Regions from separate parts of the Homo sapiens genome. Here region 1 is linked to region 2. The links are contacts of gene promoters, found by promoter capture Hi-C in blood cells and fetal thymus (Javierre and others, 2016). All regions are on one chromosome and are shown on one strand. The core of a region is centred on a gene start or on the middle of the fragment in contact, and the rest is flanking DNA. Distances in the headings are between cores, read along the strand shown.

Region 1 (3,290 bases), core at 212-2,711, 220 kb after region 2:
TTCTGTTCTCCATCCACCGGCTATGAGGGTCTAACAGGAGAGACTAAAAATAATGCACTTCCAGGTGCCACCGCTTTAAGGGAATCAGGGACTATGACTAAGAACTACAAGGTCTTCTAAACTTTATAATTTCCTCCGTATTGTTATTTCCTGTCTGTTTCGCTGCAGCGATTAGCAGTAAAACTCTAAAAACAAAAATGACCAAGGTTGTTTTTAAGGTCAGCAAGGAAGCAGGGAACTGGGGAGAGACAGCACCCCAGGGTTTGAGGTAAACAACACCAGGAGATGGAGTGGGTGGAAGGAGCTGAATAGCGGAAAGGAAAGAGGGTGAAGTCCTCTGGCTTGTTTGAAAAAGGAAAGAGGGGGTGGGAGGATGAAGTTGCCTTTTAGCTGGAATGAAAGTCATCATCTTAATAGCATTGTCATTCTTTCCTGTTTTGTCTTTAGATGCACAAATCTGTTTTCAAGCCTGGAAAATGAAGCAAATGTGTGGTTTTCAGCTACTGTTGCAGTTCAGGGGCCTTTGTAGCAAATGATACTCCCCTAGACTAAGGATCCGAAATACAAATGTCTATAGAAAGGCCACGCAGATATCGTACTTGGATGGAGGCAGCCAGAGGTAAGGCTGTTGGGAGTGGTGGGGACTGTGGTAAACAGGAGAGTACTCACTCCATCTAAGGAAGCAGAAACAACCAGTCCCAGGTGATTATGGGCCTAACCAAACCGTGTACCCACATTGCTAGATCTTTCACATTTTCAGGAGAAGCTGGAAACTTGGATTATTATGTGAAGTCACCTTATTTTTAAATGTTGGCGGCTAATGTTGCTTAAAAACAAACAACAGTACTCTGAGCCAAATAAAACATATCAATGAGACATATTTAGCTCAAAGGCCAACTCTTTGAAAACATGAATACAGAGCATTTTGCAATCTGGAACGCTAAAGCACTAATATGATTTTTTCAAGGCATGTGGTCTTCTTCTGAATAACAAATGACAAGGCAACAAGCAAATACCAGGTAAACTGGGGAACTGCAAAATGCTTTGTGTTACGATTTGTTAAAATTGACTATTGTGCCTAGAAATTTATATAAAGAGCTAGTTTGTTAATTTTTCATGTCCAACTGGAAAGCTCTGATATATTCTTTCAATAAATCATGAAACATTTATTGAGCACCTAATATATGCAAAGTAAAGATAAATAGGCTGGGTGCCGTGGCTCACACCTGTAATCCCAGCAGTTTAGGAGGCTGAGGCGGGAGGATTGTTTGAGCCCAGGAGTTCGAGAAGAGCCTGGGCAACTCAGGAAGACTTCATCTCTTCATCTTCATCTTACAAAAAATTTTAAAAATTAGCTGGATGTGGTGGTGCATGCCTGTAGTTCCAGCCACTTGGGAGGCTGAGGCAGGAAGACTACTTGAGCCCAGGAGGTCAAGGCTGCAGTGAGCCATGATGGTGCCGTTGCACTCTAGCCTGGATGACAGAGCAAGACCCTGTCTTAAAAATAAATAAATAAATAAATAAATAAATAAATAAATAAATAGGCTGGGTGCCGTGGCTCACGCCTGTAATCCCAGCACTTTGGGAGGCTAAGGCAGGTGAATCACCTGAGGTCAGGTGATTAGCTGGGCATGGTGGTGGGCCCCTGTAATCCCAGCTACTCGGGAGGCTGAGGCAGGGAGAACTACTTGAACCCGGGAGGCGGAGGTTGCAGTGAGCTGAGATTGTGCCACTGCACTCCAGCCTGGGCAACAGAGTGAGACTGTCTCAAAAAAAAAAAATACATAAAATAAAATAAAAATAAAAAAATAAAAATTTAAAAAGATAAATAAAACTTTTCCTATAAAAAGTGTCAGATTGTATTTACTTTATTTCTTTTTTCTTTGTTTTTTGAGACACAGTCCCAGTCTGTCTCCCCAGCTGGAGTATAGTGGTACGTTCTCAGCTCACTGCAACCTCCACCTTCTGGGTTCAAGCGATTCTCCTGCCTCAGCCTTCTGAATAGCTGGGATTACAGGTGCCCACCACCACGCCCAGCTAATTTTTGTCTTTTTAGTAGAGACGGGGTTTCACCATGTTGGCCAGGCTGGTCTTGATCTCCTGACCTCGGGTGATCCACTTGCCTTGGCCTCCGAAAGTGCTGAGATTACAGGTATGAGCTATGATGCCCAGCCCAAATAGTAAGTATTTTAGGCTTTGAGGTCCATTCAGTCTCCATCACAACTATTCAGATCTGCCTTTGTAGTCACAAAGCAGTCTTAGCCAATACATAAACTAATGGATATGGCTGCGTTCTAATAAAACTTTATTTACAACAGGCAGCAGTCCAAATTTGGCCTGTAAGCCATAGTTTGCCAATCTCAGATGTAGAAGATTTAAGAGAGCTTGCAGCCTAATGCAACAGTTTTATTTTTAAATATTTACATGTTTATATTTTGCCTACTAAGACAAGGAATTAGAGTAATATTGCTATGGTTTTTACGTTATATTTTGGGTGACAACACTGATTTTTTTTTTTTTTTTTTTTTGATACAGGGTCTCACTTGTCACCCAGGCTGGAATGCAGTGGCTCCATCATGGCTCACTGCAGCCTCAACCTCCTGGACTCAAGCGATCCTCCCCTCAGGCTCCCAAGTAGCTGGGACTATAGGCATGCATCACCACGTCTGGCTAATTTTGTATTTTTTTGTAGAGACAGGGTTTCGCCGTGTTGCCCAGGCCGGTCTCAAACTTCTGGGCTCAATTGATCCTTCTGCCTCAGACTCCCATAGTGGTGGGTTTACAGGTGTGGGCCACCATGGCTGGCCAAAAACATCATATTTTTGACTACAATAGTTACTTCAGTGGAGTGGTTCGATTTCTCTGTGTTTTGGTTGGACTTGAATCTGTTGTGTGGCTCTCACCTGTAGTCCCAGCTACTCAGGAGGCTCAGGTGGGAGGATCGCTTGAGTCTAGGAGGCAGAGGTTGCAGTGAGCCAAGATTGTGCCACTGCACTCCAGCCTGGGTGGCAGAGCAAGACCCTGTCTCAAAAGAAAAAAAAAAAAAAGAAAAGCGGCCAGGCACGGTGATTCATGCCTGTAATCCCAGCACTTTGGGAGGCCAAGGAGGGCGGCTCACCAAAGATCAGGTGTTCGAGACCAGACTGGTCAACATGGTGAAACCCCGTCTCTACTGAAAAAAAAAAAAAAAAAAAAGCTGGGCATGGTGGCATGCACCTGTAGTCCCAGCAACTCAGGAGGCTGAGGCAGGAGCATTGCTTGAACCTGAGACATGGAGGCTGCAGTGAGCT
Region 2 (3,165 bases), core at 355-2,854:
TATGTGCGTCAGTTGATCTACAGGAAATAGTTTAACAGCCCTAAACAGAACACATGATTTTTTAACCTGTAAGTTTCCTCAGAATGTTGCTCTGTTGCCCAGGCTGGAGTGCAGTGGCACCATCAAGGCTCACTTCAACCTCGACTAAAGGAATTTTTTTTTTTTTTTTTTTTTTTTTTTTTTTTTTTTTTTTTGAGACGGAGTCTCGCTCTGTCACCCAGGCTGGAGTGCAGTGGCGCCTTCTCGGCTCATTGCAACCTCTGCCTCCCGGGTCCAAGAGATTCTCCTGCCTCGGCCTCCTGAGTAGCTGGGATCACAGGCACACGCCACCACCCCTGGCAAATTTTTGTATTTTTAGTAGAGATGGAATTTCGCCATGTTGGCCAGGCTCCTGACTTCAAATGATCTGCCCGCCTCAGCCTCCCAAAGTGCTGGGATTACAGGCTTGAGCCACCGTGCCCAGCCACCCCCTATTTTCTTCTAATTTTCTTTTTATAGTTGAGATAGGGTCTTGCTCTGTCGCCCAGGCTGGGGTGCAGTGGTGCAGTCATAGCTCACTGCAGCCTCGATTTTCCAGGCTCAAGCAATACTCCCACTTCAGCCTCCCAAGTAGCGTGACTACAGGTGCACGCCACCACGCCGGGCTTATTTTGTTTTATTTTTTGTAGAGATGGGGTTTCGCCATGTTGCCCAGGCTGGTCTCGAACTCCCGGGCTCAAGCGATCCACCCTTCCTTCCCGGCCTCCCTAAGTGCTGGGATTACAGGCGTGGGCCACCGCGCCCGGCTGAATCAGGATTTTAAATATTCACTCTGCTTTTCTAGTCCTGTGGGAGATATGGTCTTCTCCGTAAAATTTCTCCCTCAGTCCTGGGTGATTTATTTCTTTTGCATTGAAGTGTGTGGCTTTTCGTGTGTTAGCAGTTTGTAATTTGTCGGGTAAAAGGAAAACTAGTAGGGCCTTCTGGAACTTAGTTATCTGTCTTTCTAGGACTTTTAGGTAATACCTTATAACCTTAACAAAGTTTCCTTATTTTATACGGACTTGTAAGTCAACAAATACTTCTACAGTGCCTATTGTGTACAAAGAATGAGGATTGCACTTTCACAATGAAATGAGGGAGGACAGGGGCCGATCTCTCAGATATTTGACTGATAAACCAGTACCTTTTCTAGTATATGCGACCATAGGGGAAATTCTCTCTAGGCTAGATAAACGGAGGAGTTTATTTAGTGTTTTAGCAAGCTTTATCGCCTCCATAGGTACAAATTATTTGCATTTTCTAGAGCAAGGGATAAGACGCGCCCTGGAATCTTTCCTTTTTGATGTGGATTTTCCAATTAGGAAAGGCTGCCCGTGAATAGTCTTTTCTGCTTGAGTGATGGCCAACACACTGGCAGGTTTGCAAGCTTTCTCTTCATGAGGGTCCGTCCACAGAGCTAGGTGACAAACGCTCAGTCCAGGATCTCTGCAGGTTCCTACACGGGAGCCGGAGAGCGCCTGCGCGTCGGAGCCTCTTTGTTGCTGGGGCGCTGGGGTCCAGCTGCGCGTGCGCAGTAGGCCGGCACCGACAAGTGCGCTGCACCAGTGGCACCGGCTGGGGGCGAGCCGACCTCGAGCAGCCGCCGCCGCCGCCGTCGTTGCTACTGCCGCAGCGGAGTTCAGAGGGCCCGGAGGTGGGAGACTTCCCACACGGTGACTGAGATGTCGTCCACTGCGGCTTTTTACCTTCTCTCTACGCTAGGAGGATACTTGGTGACCTCATTCTTGTTGCTTAAATACCCGACCTTGCTGCACCAGAGAAAGAAGCAGCGATTCCTCAGTAAACACATCTCTCACCGCGGAGGTGAGAGGGGTCCCCAGAACCCGATGACGGAGGTGGGGGAGGCTGAGGGTCCTTTGCGGCTCCGCAAAAGGCAGCCGGGTGCCAATCCCTGAGAGTTTGAGGAAGAATGGGGTTGTGTGAATTGAGGGCTCTTCCGGAGGTGAAGGCTGTGTGAAGGGAAGGTCTCCTGAGGGGAGGGAAGGAGAGGGATTCCCGGTCAGAGCCACGGCGGGGGTCTCTCGAGGGCAGCAGTGTGAGGGGTTCTCTGAAACGGGAAAGACACGGTCGAGAATGAAGGGTAGGTGGAGCGTTTCTCGGCGGATGGAAGGATGATCGCAAGGTCCCTTCCTAGCAGCAAGACACAAAGGGGGAGCGCCGTGCAGAACCGAGGGTACCCCGCGGGGGGCACCGGGAGCACACTGCTCCGAGCGAGCTAGTGGCTGAGTGGATGGGAAGAGCCGAGGCGACGAGGAGGGCTGGGGATTTGCATGAAGCTGGACGAGCTGTAACCCCTTGTCTGCGGTGCTGGGGGCCCGTCCCACCCCCACGTTCCGAGCACTCATAATTGAGAAGAGAGGGAAACCGAGTCCCCCGAGCCAGGGACATTTCCCAAGGTCACAATTAGAGCTAGGGCTGAACTGAGACAGGAGCTACAGCGTCCTGGTCCTCAGGGCTGGAAACCTTGCATCTTTTTTTTTTTTTTTTTGAACACTGCAATAAATAAATAAATAAATAAATAAATAAATAAACACGCAAAGACACGTGGATTTTCAACAGACTAAAAATGATTTCGTTTAGGACAGGACAGTATTGTTTAAAGAAAACAAAAATAAGTTTCTTTTGGAAAAGTGTTTTGCTAAAAGGAGCCCAGGTAGTCCACCCTCTAATTTCCCAGATAACAGGCCAAATCTTTGCTTCTTCATTATTGTGTAATAATGTGTCTTCATTGCATTTCAACTATGATGTATAAAGTGCGGTGAAATTGGATTATTTTCAATCAATTTTAACTGTTCTTTAAGGCTGAATCTTAAACCGGTTTAAAATTTGCTTGAAATTTAATACACACTTGAAATGATAATTTCTAGGAGTTTACAGTCTAAAACTTGGTGTAGTACCATAATCACTTTACTAACAAGTATTGGCCAAGGAAAAAGGTTTTGAAATATAAATACGGAAGTACATTATCATTCTTCTATATAATTTTATTAGTTAAGCATAGTTCTAATGAGTGACTTCAATAGTATTCTAGCCTTCCCACTCATGAAAAGCCTCAGAGGTTTTAAAGGGTGGTCAGCCAAATGCCTTGTTATTGTTTATTTGGGTTATCTGTTTTAATAGCTA

Evidence for each region. The method cuts DNA at HindIII sites, captures the fragments that hold promoters and counts their contacts. A CHiCAGO score of 5 or more calls a contact.
Region 1: a fragment that was not itself captured here is called in contact with the fragment with the promoter of GDPD1 in region 2 in 1 of 17 cell types (megakaryocytes); the score reaches 7.4 in megakaryocytes.

What each region holds. Positions count from the first base shown.
Region 1 is chr17:59,441,018-59,444,307 of GRCh38, forward strand. The region is part of intron 2 of LINC01476 (long intergenic non-protein coding RNA 1476); the gene reads right to left. It overlaps LOC124904040 (a long non-coding RNA gene), which reads left to right. Exons shown (of 3, transcript XR_007065867.1): 1 at 1-111; 2 at 448-619. Among named protein-coding and RNA genes, the nearest start is that of MIR4729, 77 kb to the left of the region's middle. RefSeq lists a silencer at 1,887-2,092. The HindIII fragment of the contact is 5,021 bases long and covers 1-3,290 here.
Region 2 is chr17:59,218,907-59,222,071 of GRCh38, forward strand. It overlaps GDPD1 (glycerophosphodiester phosphodiesterase domain containing 1), which reads left to right and starts at 1,605. Exons shown (of 10, transcript NM_182569.4): 1 at 1,605-1,845. The coding sequence starts at 1,704. RefSeq lists an enhancer at 1,631-2,181. The HindIII fragment of the contact is 5,185 bases long and covers 1,407-3,165 here.